Regions from separate parts of the Homo sapiens genome. Here all the other regions are linked to region 3. The links are contacts of gene promoters, found by promoter capture Hi-C in blood cells and fetal thymus (Javierre and others, 2016). All regions are on one chromosome and are shown on one strand. The core of a region is centred on a gene start or on the middle of the fragment in contact, and the rest is flanking DNA. Distances in the headings are between cores, read along the strand shown.

Region 1 (4,150 bases), core at 1,406-3,905, 950 kb after region 3:
TCTTTGTATCTCCTGATTCACAGGCCTGAGTGCTAAGTCCTGGTAGAAATCATGAAGTTTGCAATGAGTTTAGGAAACAGAACAGTATCTCTGGTTCTAGAACTTAGGTTCCATGAACACATAGCCAGGAAAATAACCCAGTCATCTGCAGGGGACAATCAGCCTCCACCATACTGATGTTGAGGACTGGCCTACAGTGATTGAAAAAGCAAGGCTACAAATAGTGTTCCCCATCCCTCCATTATCACTCCAACTCCTGGTGGAGAGTGGATAATTATACTGGAAGACAGAAACAACACTTTTTTTTTTTTTTTTTTTTTGAGACAGAGTCTCTCTCTGTCACCCAGGCTGGAGTGCAGTGGCGCGATCTCAGCTCACTGCAACCTCTGCCTCCCAGGTTCAAGTGATTCTCCTGCCTCAGCCTCCGGAGTAGCTGGGATTACAGGTGCACACCACCACGCCTGGCTAATTTTTGTATTTTTAGTAGAGACGGGGTTTCACCATGTTGGCCCGGCTGGTCTCGAACTCCTGAGAGCATGATCTGTCCACCTCGGCAGCCTCCCAAAGTGCTGGGATTACAGGTGTGAGCCACTGCACCTGGCCGAAACAACACATTTCTTTCTTTTTTTTTTTTTTTTTTCTGAGACAGAATCTTGCTCTGTCACCCAGGCTGGAGTGCAGTGGCACAATCTCGGCTTACAACCTCCATCTCCTGGGTTCAAGTGATTCTCCTGCCTCAGCCTCCTGAATAGCTGGGATTATAGGTGCCCACCACCACGCCCAGCTAATTTTTGTATTTTCAGTAGAGATGGGGTTTTACCATATTGGCCAGGCTGGTCTGGAACTCCTGACCTCAGGTGATCCGCCTGCCTCGGCCTCCCAAAGTGCTTGGATTACAGGCATGAGCCACCGCACCCAGCCAACAACACATCTCTAAATGGATCATTAAAGCTATTATGACCTGCCATGATGGCAGCTTCATGGGAATCAGGAAGGGCCATGTATTGGCCCCACCATCAAAAAATACAGTGTCATGGACACTGATGCTTCTTCCAGTTTCTCAGCCACATGTTGTCCATCAAGACATTTCTGTTTTCAAACCTAGGAAGAGGAAATCTGAAGCCCACTACCACTGGAAGAATATCCCTGACCACAAAGACTAGACTTGGCATTTGGGCCCCATTCTACTGACAGGACTCTTGTTTTGGGGTATCCAGATTTATATAATCTGTTAGAAACCCTAAAGCCCAAGTGGATCCTCTTCAAGCATTCTCTATTTTATTCATCAAGCCTTCCTGCAGAACAACACTGTTGCTAAAATGTTGCTATGACAACTCCAAATCAACTAAGCCTGAGCAAGAAGGGGTAAAAAAAAAAAAAACAGGGTTCTGAAGAAGAGACAAAGGGGGAAGAATCCACCTACAAGCTCTGCCTTAGGACCCTGACACCCAGCCAGAGGGCAGGAAAAACAAAGAGCTGGGCAGACATGCCTCCAGAAAGAAACAGCTACACAGTACAAAGCAATAAGATAATCCCAACACAAAAGGGGCAAGATTTTTGGAAATTCTCTACCCATAAGGTCCTCCAAACCTTTCCTATCCAAGGAAAATTTTCAATGGATAAGCCTCGGAAAGACCGCGTCCGAGGAAAATGTTGAAAAAGGAACTGAAAGTGAAACCGTACAGACGAAGTAACGCTGCAAGGAGATCCCAGTCGATAAGGGGAAGTAGCACTAGTGTTTTGGGACCACCTACATTTCCATCTTCAAACCTGAAGAGGAAATGCCCTGCGAAGCTTGCCGCGCTGACTGCAGGGGAAGGCAATGAAATAGAGGGCCCGGCACAGGAGGCATCTCTATTGGCCACAGCTGTCAGCCGGGGCAGTCTCTGAGGACACCCAGCAACGGGGTCAGGGTACTTATTCAAATCTTAGTTGGACATCCGGAAGCATTTCCTAGGCATTAGGGATCGGTGACACGGAAACAGGGATGGGACGTTGTGGTGTGCACGCTCAGGCCAGAAGGGCCCAGTAAGAGCCCTTGCTAAGTCTGGACACAAAGGGAAAAAAAATCAACTCCCGAAAGAAGTCAGGCACCTAGACCTTGCCTTAGAATGAGGCGTCTCCCTGCAGGCTCACCAACCAGAAGGCGCTTACGGAGCTGAGCGCCCGCCAGGCGCGAGCCCGGGAGCCTGCGCCGTGACCCCGCAGCCCCGCAGTCTTAGCCCCGCGCCCCAGCTGCTCCGCGGAGGAGGCAGGAAAGGGCCTCGGGGACTAGGGAGCTCAAGCGCCCGGTGCCGGCGGCTGCGGCGCGCAGCTGGACAGCGCAGGAGGGCTGGGACGCTCGCGCTCTGGGGAAGGGAGAGAGTTTGGCCCACAAAGCAGGGTATGAGATAAAGAACCAGCACAGCCCCCTCCCCCAAAACAAAGGCTTCCTCCCCAGCAGTGTTCTCTAACTTGAAAAACGGAAACAAAATCAAAGCTGCCCTGCCTTGCCAGTCCACCCAGTTTCCAGACTTCTGCCCGGTCCTACACTCACCGGCCAAGGCCGTCTCAGCTGCCGATTTTCTCCAACTGTGTTCTCCCTCTCCCGGCCTAGGTATCTCCATAGACAGCTGCTCATGCGCACTTCCAGCCCGCGGCCATGTTGGTGAGGGGCGGAAGTGTCGCTCTCGCCCCGCCCATAAACTCAAACTCAGAACTGCCCCACTTCCGCTCACTCCATCTTGATGAGAGTTGGTGTTTGTGGGTTATTTGTGAAGCCGGAAAGAAGCCGTGTCCTGGAGAATGTAGCTGAAGGCCTGGCCACTTTCGACAAGAACGGGAAAGAGACGACTAACTTGTACTAATATCTTAGTGCTTGGCAGGGCATTTTTTCATTCCAGGAAAGAAGAGAATCCAGCTGAGATCAAGGGAGGGACGTCCGACGGAGGCGCCATCTTTAACAAGGGCTATTTGGGAGGCCATCTTGGCGCAGGGCGTCTTTTTGAAAGGTTACCTGCTAGAGATTACGACCTATCGGGGCATGCATAGAATTGGATATGTTCCTTGTTATTCGCGTCAGCAGTCACTCATCCAAAGACCCCAAAGCTTCTAGTGTTCTAAAGGCTCACACCTTCTGTGACAGGAATCTTGATTCCCATTCTTCTCAATCAAGACCTACCCTGAATGGATTTGGAGTAGTGTGGTATAATGGGAAAAATTCAAGCTTGGGGGCCAGGCAGATCCAGGTTTCAAACCCATCTCTGCCACTTCTTACCTCTGAGACCTTTGGCAAACATTTTGACTTAATTGAGCCTTAGTTTCCTCATCTATAAACTGGAGATACTAGCACCAACCTTCCAGAATTGTGTGGATTAAATAAAATCAAGGACATAGATTTTGTGAGCACAGGATACTTAGTCCAGTTCCTGGCACATAATGAACGCATTATGTAAATATAAGTTTCTCTTCCTTATTTCCTGACCACCATGAACCTAGCTCTAGTTTCTGGCCACTAGTCTCCATGACAACAACTGAGGAAGAGCACCCAAACAAGAAGAAGAAAAAGAATGTTTTGCCAAATATGTGAAGATATAATACCTATCACCAAAGACTTTAATAAGAATAATGAGACTCCACACTATGTGTAAAAATACAGCTTTTATTCTGAGACATTGACCTTCACTAGAGTGGGACCTGTGGCCCCAGCCTGGCTGGAGAAGCAGTCCCAGGGCCTGAGTGACACCATTTCCCTTTCCTGAAATAGGAACAAGTTATTCCAAAGGAGAAAGGAGAGCCCAGAGAGATCTGTACAGGACCTCTCTTGCACATGGTGACTGGAGGCAGAGGGTGGGGAGCTGGAGAGGAGTCCAGTCCCTCCAACAAATATTGAGGGCTTCAAAGAGCTCTTCCTGGACGTTTCTCTTAATCTGGATTTAAAAGGGACAGGAGGTATCTTAGGGTCCAAGAACATAACAGGAATGGGCAACTCTAGAAGTGTTTGTGTGTGGAAGGCCCTAACCTGGCCCTGTCCTCCCTGTCTCTACCTTTGGCTTTCATGAAGAGAGATTCACAGCTCAGAGGAAGGGAGGAATTTCTCCAGTCTTCACTTTAACAAACTCTTTTAAGTTTTCTGCCTACCTTATGTTCCCTTTGGCCAATGACCCACTCC
Region 2 (4,233 bases), core at 386-2,885, 520 kb after region 3:
AACATGACAGGTTCATCTCAAACAAAATATAGAACTTACACCTGGTTTCTGGACTTGGGCATAGATCGTAAGGCTTTTTTTTTCCACTGTTGTCTGGTAATGGTTCGTTTTACCTGGTGAAAAGAAACCATAATGGTTATCTCCCTCTGGTCCCCAGCAGGAGCTCCTTACTCAGACCTGGTCTTTACTGTCCTTTGCATACCCACTTTCCCCAAGGGCACAATGGAAACAAAGCCCTGAGTCCCAGCCCCCCTGCACATTTGTCATATTGTCTTAGGTTAGTTACTTGATCACTCTAGGCCTATCTGTGAAATGGGATTTGAAATACCTGCCTCACGGGGCTGTTGTGATAATTAAATGAGATACCACTTGTAAAGTGTTTAGAACACTGCCTGGTGCATAACAAATGCCCAATACGCATTAGGTGTTTTTCTCATTGGTGTACCATTCAATTACTTTAATCTCTGTTGCTCAATGTGCATATCTGGTCTCCTAATAGGATTCTAAGTTCTTTGAGGGCAGGGCTAGTTGTTTATACCTCTTTTGTATTTTCCAGCTGGTAGTATGTTGCTTCACTCACAGCTTTCTCACCTCCCTATTTCTGGGGGAATTGATGTGTGGGAGGTAAGGGCGGGGGGACGTGTAAGAGGGATGTTCCACCTGGGACTATTTAGAAAATAAAGCAACAATGTCATTCTGTTGCCCACCATCTGGAAATTTTGCTCAGGGCCTAGGGTCTCTGGAAATTAATAAGTTGCAGAATATTTTAATTTTTAGCCAATTTTAAAAAGCTTTCTTTTTAAATTATAGGAGTAATTTATTCTCATCATAAAATAAAAATTGTGAAGAAATATATAAAGTATAAAGTAAAAAGTATAAATCCCCTTCTTCCATTAACCAACCCAATTTCATTCCCAAAAGAAACCGTATTTTTCAATACCTGTGAAAAGAAGTGGGAAAAAAAAGAAGAAACCATTTTTAAAAGTTTGATGTATATCCCTGTAGATCAGCTCTGTGCAACAGAACTTTCTGAGATGATGGAAATGTTCCATATCTGCAGTGTCTAATACAGCTTACAGACACGGGGCTATGGAGCACCTGAACTGTGACTAATGTCACTGAATTTTAAATTTTATTTAATTCAAATTAATTTAAATTTAAAAAGCCACATGTGGCTAGTGACTACCATATTAGACAATGCAGTTTTGGATATTTGCTATACTTATATAGACTTTTTTCCACACAAGAGGTGTCATTCTGCACACACTTCTCTGTAACTTGATCTTTTCACTTAAAATGTATTGAGGACATTTTTCATGTTAGCACAGTAGACCTATCTCATTCTTTCTAAAGTTGCACAGTATCCTTTGTATACATCATGCAGCAGTAAGGATGGTGGGAAAGTGGCAGACTGAAGGATGGAGGTTTATTATGGGATTATTGCAAAGTCCAGGCAGAGGCAATGGAGGCTGGACCCAGAAAATCACAGCCTTTAAGGTAGACTTATTTTAACACCAGTTAATTTATTCTCTTAAAAAACTGGGCTGGGTGCAGTGGCTCACGCCTATAATCACAGCACTATGGGAGGCTGAGGTGGGCAGATCACGAGGTCAGGAGTTTGAGACCAGCCTGGCCAACATGGGGAAACCCTGTCTCTACTAAAAATACAAAAATTAGCCAGGCATGGTGGCACGCGCTTATAATTTCAGCTACTCAGGAGGCTGAGACAGAAGAACTGCTTGAGCCCAGGAGACAGAGGTTGCAGTGAGCCGAGATCATGCCATTGCACTCCAGCCTGAGTGACAGAGCAAGAATCTATCTCAAAAAAAAAAAAAAAAAAAAAAAGGCACATCTCTGAGGAAATAGCATTTTTAGGAGAGGCACATTTTTCTTTGGAAGGGAAAGGCCCAGTGTGTATGTGGTGAGCATGGTGGAATGTGCTGCGTGAGGGTGTGAGTCTTGGGGAGGAAATGTGGGGCAGACACTGATGAAGTTCCAGGAATTCAAGGAAAGTCAACATGGGATTTTTTGTGTGTGGGTATGAGCACGGTGTGCCTAGTGGTTTCAACTTCGCTTTTTTGGTCAGAGTTGATCCTGACTGAGGAGTGTGCGTGAGTGCGTGTGTGTGTGTGTGTGTGTGTGTGTGTGTGTAAAATGGAGGGGAGGACTCAAGAAGCAGTTGGAGGTAGCAGAGGAGGTTCAAGTTAGTCCCCACGAGTGTTTGCAAAGTAAGACATGCCTGCCCAGCACTCTCCTAGGTGCTGTAGTGGCTACAAATAGAGTAGAGAACAGACTACAGTCCTCAAAGACTTTCAGTCTTGCAGGTCAGCTCAGAGTCAAATGTAGAACTGGAAGGACAGTCCTAAATGGTCAGACAGATGGAAGAGGTGAGGTTGATTGTTGCTGCTTAAAAGGACCATTGGACCAAGATAATTTAGTCTCAGGTTATTTTCCCCAGTGCAAGAACAGGTTTTTAGGAGTAAGCTTAACTCGGCTCCAAGTCAGCAAGGTCTTAGGCTCTAAGGAAAAAGTCTTGGCCTTAAAATTAGGACATCTACATTGTAGCCATCATTAGCTGTGTGGCATTGGACAAATCACGTCATCTCAATGGGTCTTTTCTCTTACCATAACTGTAAAATGAGGGCATAGAGTATCTAATATCCTTTTCAGCTTTTACCTGAAGCATAAAGTCTTATGTTACCATGACTTAAAATATTTTCAATCTGTTCTAGGTATTGTTTCCAGATGCTTCCAGTGCAGCTTCTCCTGGCCATAGCACTTACACATTGCCATTTTAATTCATCTACACTAAGAGATCTGTCTATCTGTCTATGTATCTATCTGTCTATGTATCTATCTATCTATCACCCATCGATGGGAACCACTGTGTTCAGTGTTTTCTGTGTATTGATACCAATCTCCACCACAATACCATGAAGTACATAGTATTACCCCTGTTTTGCAGACGAGAAGTTAAGTCATTTGATCACACAGCTTGTCAGTAGCAAAATCTGCATCTGAATGTAAGTTTGTCTAATGCCTATACCCACATTCTTTATCAGTGTATTCTCCTGGACATGAAATTGCCAAAGAGTCATGAAATTGAAAAGCCTTCAGCGTCAGGCTGCATTCTGATGATTATAGCATTAGAAGCTGCCAATATAATTTCTTTAGCAAGGTTTTATGAAAGGTGCAGCAACTAAATATAAATTTTACCGCAAGTTTGAGGCAGTTTTGTGTGTTGCTAACTTACAAGGGACAAATGGTGAATGGGGTTGAGGTGAGGATGGGTATGTGTGTTGGGGAAGGTAGTGGGGAATTGTGGGATGGGGAGCACTATTCCCTTAGAGCACAACCATGTGATAAGCCAAGTGTGGTTGAGGAAAGAGTATGGCGTAGGATCCCAGCAATTTTACTAGGTAGGTTAATGTGGATAAGTTAAGTTCAGTTTTCTCATCCTGGGTCATCTCACTATTTCCTTATAGTATGAGCTAAATGTGATTGCCCTACCCCGAGCCCCATAGGCTGTCAACCTAATTTCTATCTGAATCACCCATCCCTCCTACCTGGCTAACTCTTAGATGGAGGAAATGAGACACAAGTAGGTCGCTGTGCTATGATCTAGATTTTTTTATATATGCAAAACCAACATCAGAGTGCTGAGGTAAGGGCTTTTCTAAGAAGGTTGTGTGTAGATGACACTGATCTACTTGAGAATGAAATCAGTCATCAGCTCAGTGTTATGAGGATCAAGTTCTATCCTTACCATGGGAAGGCAGCCGGGGCATCTCTCCTGGTCTTGGGTCAGGACATTTTGACTCCAGTATTGGTTGGTAGTAGTCAAGGTGGCTGAGGGGAGCACAATGCCCTGAGATATTGTATCATAGGGAAATTTGGAAGAGAGGACAGGGGATGGTACCTCTAGGCACTTCAACTGCAGGGGAATAATTGTGCCTTATTGGTTTCATTCTAACCCTGGTGACTTTTTGGATGAGATCCAATAATTTTCTGAATTCTGTTCCCAGTGAATACTCTTAAACCTCTTGTTCACTTCTTCAGCATCCTGTGTTTACCCTGATGGCAGTGCTAGTCACACTAAACTGAAATTATCTGAATAATGTCTCTCACATTAGAAACCTGTGGCTCTTCTATTTCTTTCCACAGCCTAGTAGAGGGGATCAAGACATGTTGAATTAGACTGAATTAAGCAAGGTCCCAGGATATGTTTATCTA
Region 3 (4,141 bases), core at 953-3,452:
AGGCCTGAAGGGACTGACCTCACCAACCAGAGTGTCACTTTTAGGCCTCCCAGGGGGATACCATGGACTTTCTGCAGGAGCTAGAGGAAAATGCCCAGGAGTCTGTGGTCAAACTCTACCCTCCAGCTTCTCTAGAACGGCTCCTCTGAACTTCCCCACCCCTGCTTCTGGGCTCCTAGCCCCTTCCTTCATCCTCTGGCTGGGTCACAGGGAGAACTCATGGTCTGTTGTTAAGGGCACAGCTGCCAGTCAGGAAGTGGGATTCCAGCACCATCCCCATGCCCAGCTGTGTGGCCTGGGATCCAGTCTCTTTCTGTCCTAGGCCTCAGTTTCCACACTGGAGGAGAACTAAGAGCTCCAGCTCTGACCATGTGTGAGTGCGTATGTGACTCAGGAGAGCCCTGCCCCAGGCCAGGCAAGTTTCATAATCAGAGTGACGGTGGAGACAGCCAAGCTGACACCTTCCCTGACTGCCTCAGGGCAGACTGCTCAGAAGGCCCCCTCCCATTTTCCTGGCTCCACAACTGCTGATGCTTGGAGATGCCCATGGGAAAGTCACCTCCACAGCCTTAGGAAATCAGTTGCCACACAGCTCTCTCTCCCCTCCTCTGTATCAGTCGCAGCAAGGAAAGGGACAGCAAAGAGGCCTGCTTTGGAATCAGATCTGTGTTCAAATCCTAGCCCCAACACTCACTAAATGTGCTCTCTGGGGCAAGTTACTTCATTTTCCTCATTTGTGAAATGAATGTAAGTGCCCACAGGCAGTGGGTGCTCAGACCTCTGCGTGCTCCTTTTTCAAACACAGGCCAGCACTTCCCCACCTCCCTGGGCTCCTCCCTGCTCCATGCTGCCCACTGGGGAAAACACACCAAGTGCTAGGCAACCCAGGCCCCACAGCGCCTTCCTCTCTGTACATCCTCCTGCCACCTGCCCAGGGACCAGGGAGAGGACTCATCCTAACCCTGCAGGGCCCAGGGACCTGCAGCAGGGGAAGGCTTTGCTTGGTGCCACTGTGGAGCTCTGGTCTAGAAACAGGCAGCTGGGGCTACCTTCAGCCTCTGCCTTGACGACAGCAGCTCTGAAGTCACCATCCCCACCCCCACGCTTCACTCTCATTTCAAGGGCTTCAGCCTCATCAACATCTGTACTGGCAGTTTCACTGTCTCCATGCCATACTCTTCCCCAGACCACCTCCTACAGGGAGCCCTCCAGTTCAGGCCAAAAACAATTCCACTGTCATTATCCCCATGCATCCATGCAAGATTGGCCCAGAACACCCCACCATGAACACCCACCACAGCAGGCACAAGGTGCTTGGAGATCCCAGGATCAGTCTCCATGGAACCTGGTTTCTCCTGAGGCAAGGAAGCTGGAACTAAGCGGTGTGAAAACTGATGGGTGGCTGCAGAGCCAAGTGCCATTTGGGAGACAGGAAGAAGGGCAAAGAGGGACCCAACCCAGGGTGGAGATGGGGGTGAGAGAGGGAACTGCCCCCAGTTGATGAAGTGCGTGGAGCGCAACTGGGAGAGACTTACTTCAAAGATCGTGGGCAGAACTGGCCTCTGGGCCTCCAGCCAACTCTGGGGCAATTATGAAGCTGGGCAGGCACTGCCCTCGTAGGGCGGGCACCCAAGGCCAGGCCTGGAGCTGAGTGTGGGGCAGAAAGGAGTCGCAGCATTTGGTGCAGCGACCCCAGTACGTGGGTATGCTAGCTGAGATGTGTGGCCTGCCCCGGGAGGCCGAGCAGTGCCTGGGGCAGCACCTTAGTGGGTCCTCTCTACGCCCCAGTCCCTGGCTTAGAGCTGGGGAGCCTGCACTCTTCCCAAGACTGGCTCGGCGGACAGCCACAAAGCGCAGCTGGACGCCGACCCCGGGGAGGCTGGAGGTACCCCTGACGGAGGAGGATGTGAGGAGCCCCGAAATGCTAGGGGGGTGCTGGATGGCAGGCACCTGCCCGGCAGGGCCGGGAACCGGAACGGGGGCCTGGCTTACCTAGCATTAGCAGCAGCAGCAGCGGCAGCGAAGGCGGCAGCAGCGTGGGCCTGAGGGCGCCCATCCTGCGCGGCCAGCTCTGGGGAGGCTCCGGGGGATGGCGCGGGTTCTGGGGGGCCGGAAGGGTGGGGGGCGCATGCCCAGGTTGAGGGCAGGAAGCGGGGCAGCGAGGCGTGGGTGCGCCGAGCGAGCTGAACTGGAGCTGCCGAATCCCCTCCCTCCGCCCCTCCCGCTGCTTTCCCTCCAGCCCTCGGCAGTTCTGAAACCATTCTCGCCCCGGCCCGCCCCGGCACCGCCCCTTCCACCGCCCCGTCTAGGCCCGCCCCGCCCCGGACCCAGCCTTGGCCCTGCCTGCCCCACCCCCGCCAGACTCCGGCCTTTGCTCCGCACCTGGCCCCGGCCCCGCCCCGCCCCTCGAAACTCACCTTTGAGTCGCATCGAGTCCCAGCCCCGCCCCGGCCCCGCCCCTCCCCGCCCCGCCCCGCCAAGACTCCAGCCCTGGATCCGCCCCGGGCCTCGGCCCAGCCCCAGTTCCGGCCCCTCCCCCGCCCCGCCCCACCAGGACTACAGTCGGACTCCAATCCTGGCTCCTCCCCGGGCCCCGGCCCCGCCCCAGTCCCAAGCCGCACCCCTTCCCCGTCCCCGCAGGGCTAACGTCAGCCTCCAATCCTGGCTCCGCCCTGGACCCCGGCCTCGCCCCGCCCCTGGCCCTGGCTCCGCCCGAGGCCCCCGCAGGAGTGAGCTAACTGCACCTCTGCGCATCGAAATTCCCACCCACCCTCGCACAGAGCGCATTCCACCCCGCACCTGCCAGCCTTTCCTGGAGAGTTGGGTGCAGGGTCCCTGGGATTGGCGAGGTGACTGTGACCACGCATTTAGAATTCAGTTATTTGCTCTGAGCCATAGTCCTCGCTGCAAACCCTGCTGAAGTAGGGGTTGGCGGAAGCCAGGAGTTCCTGAATGCGAAGGGTTTGAGCTGAAGGGCGCTTCCAGGATCCAGAAGGTCACTGGAGACCTGTTTTTCACCCCCTCAGAGGGCAAAACCAAAAGAAAAATGGATTAGGAGAGGGGGCCGTCCATGTGACGTCATTTCTGGGTTGGGTGATCCTAGCCCAGTTGTTTAACCTCCTTCAACTTCAGTTTTCTCCTCTGCAAATTGAATTGAGGTTGATCACATCACCCAAAGGGTTATTGTGATGATAGGTAATGTACATAAAGTGTTTGGCACAGGAAACTAACACAAAATGGGAGATAAGGATTATTTTGTTTTAGGTTTTGAATTATTATTTGAACTGCTTCCTAAGAGGCTTAGTTTAGACCTGGCATTTAGGTGAAGGAGTCTCTATGTTCAGTGACAGTGGGAAGAGATGAACATTGCTCTGTTCTAGGAAGAGTGGGGCTTGCCCTGGAGGTGGGAGAATGGAGGAGGCACCCTTCCCAGGTGCTCTGTCTCTTCCTGAACTGTAAAGATGGGAAGTGGGCAGGGGCAGGAAGGATGAGACCAGAATGGGGAGAAGAGATGGCCAGGTTTGCAAAGCCAAGGCTGTCAGAGTGGCTGTCAGTGGGAGGTGACCCCAGAGCCCATTTACCACCCTCTACCCTCCAACATCCTCCCTCTCCCCTCTCATCCCCCTTCCCTCCCACTCACTCACCCCCCTTTACAGAAGAGGAAACTGAGGCCCAGAGAGGGTAAGTGGCACAGGCCAGACCAGACCTTCCTTGACATGGTATTCCTCAAGCGTGGCACAGTGCCTGACTCTGAGAAGATGCTCACGGGGTTGCCAGTAGAAGCCACATTGAGGAACCCTGGAGAAACCAGAGAAACTGAGGCCTTGAAGGGAGATCAGAGGTCCAGCCCTCACTTCCCAGGACTGCCAGCACTGGCCCATGAACAGGGCAATAAGGTGCCTGTTTATTCCCACTTTGAAATATCCAGAAGGTTGCTCCAGAACCTCATCATCTAAATCCATCCACAGGCATATCGAGCTATGTGAAAACTGAAACTCATAGGGGAAGCTTTTGGAAGAATACGTCTCTCCCTTTATAATGGATTTAATTATCGAGTGGATTTAATGCCTTCATGATGCTTGAGGGATGAAAGATGTTACCAATTGTAATAATGATAGATGTCATTTATGAAATGCTTACA

Evidence for each region. The method cuts DNA at HindIII sites, captures the fragments that hold promoters and counts their contacts. A CHiCAGO score of 5 or more calls a contact.
Region 1: a contact is called between the fragment with the promoter of USF1 here and the fragment with the promoter of IGSF8 in region 3, in 2 of 17 cell types (fetal thymus and naive CD4 T cells). The highest score is 7.2, in fetal thymus.
Region 2: a contact is called between a fragment that was not itself captured here and the fragment with the promoter of IGSF8 in region 3, in 1 of 17 cell types (M1 macrophages). The highest score is 6.2, in M1 macrophages.

Annotation. Positions count from the first base shown.
Region 1 is chr1:161,043,322-161,047,471 of GRCh38, forward strand. USF1 (upstream transcription factor 1) reads right to left here and starts at 2,656. Exons shown (of 11, transcript NM_007122.5): 1 at 2,537-2,656; 2 at 1-39. It overlaps ARHGAP30 (Rho GTPase activating protein 30), which reads right to left. Exons shown (of 12, transcript NM_001025598.2): 12 at 3,625-4,150. RefSeq lists enhancers at 1,456-1,685, 1,745-2,625, 2,224-3,423, 2,536-3,015, 2,626-3,506. The HindIII fragment of the contact is 1,293 bases long and covers 1,793-3,085 here.
Region 2 is chr1:160,619,737-160,623,969 of GRCh38, forward strand. It overlaps SLAMF1 (signaling lymphocytic activation molecule family member 1), which reads right to left. Exons shown (of 7, transcript NM_003037.5): 5 at 40-113. Among named protein-coding and RNA genes, the nearest start is that of SLAMF1, 25 kb to the right of the region's middle. The HindIII fragment of the contact is 1,693 bases long and covers 790-2,482 here.
Region 3 is chr1:160,096,417-160,100,557 of GRCh38, forward strand. IGSF8 (immunoglobulin superfamily member 8) reads right to left here and starts at 2,203. Exons shown (of 7, transcript NM_052868.6): 1 at 1,993-2,203. The coding sequence starts at 2,056. RefSeq lists enhancers at 1-335, 336-864, 865-1,391 and a silencer at 1,958-2,787. The HindIII fragment of the contact is 5,064 bases long and covers 1-4,006 here.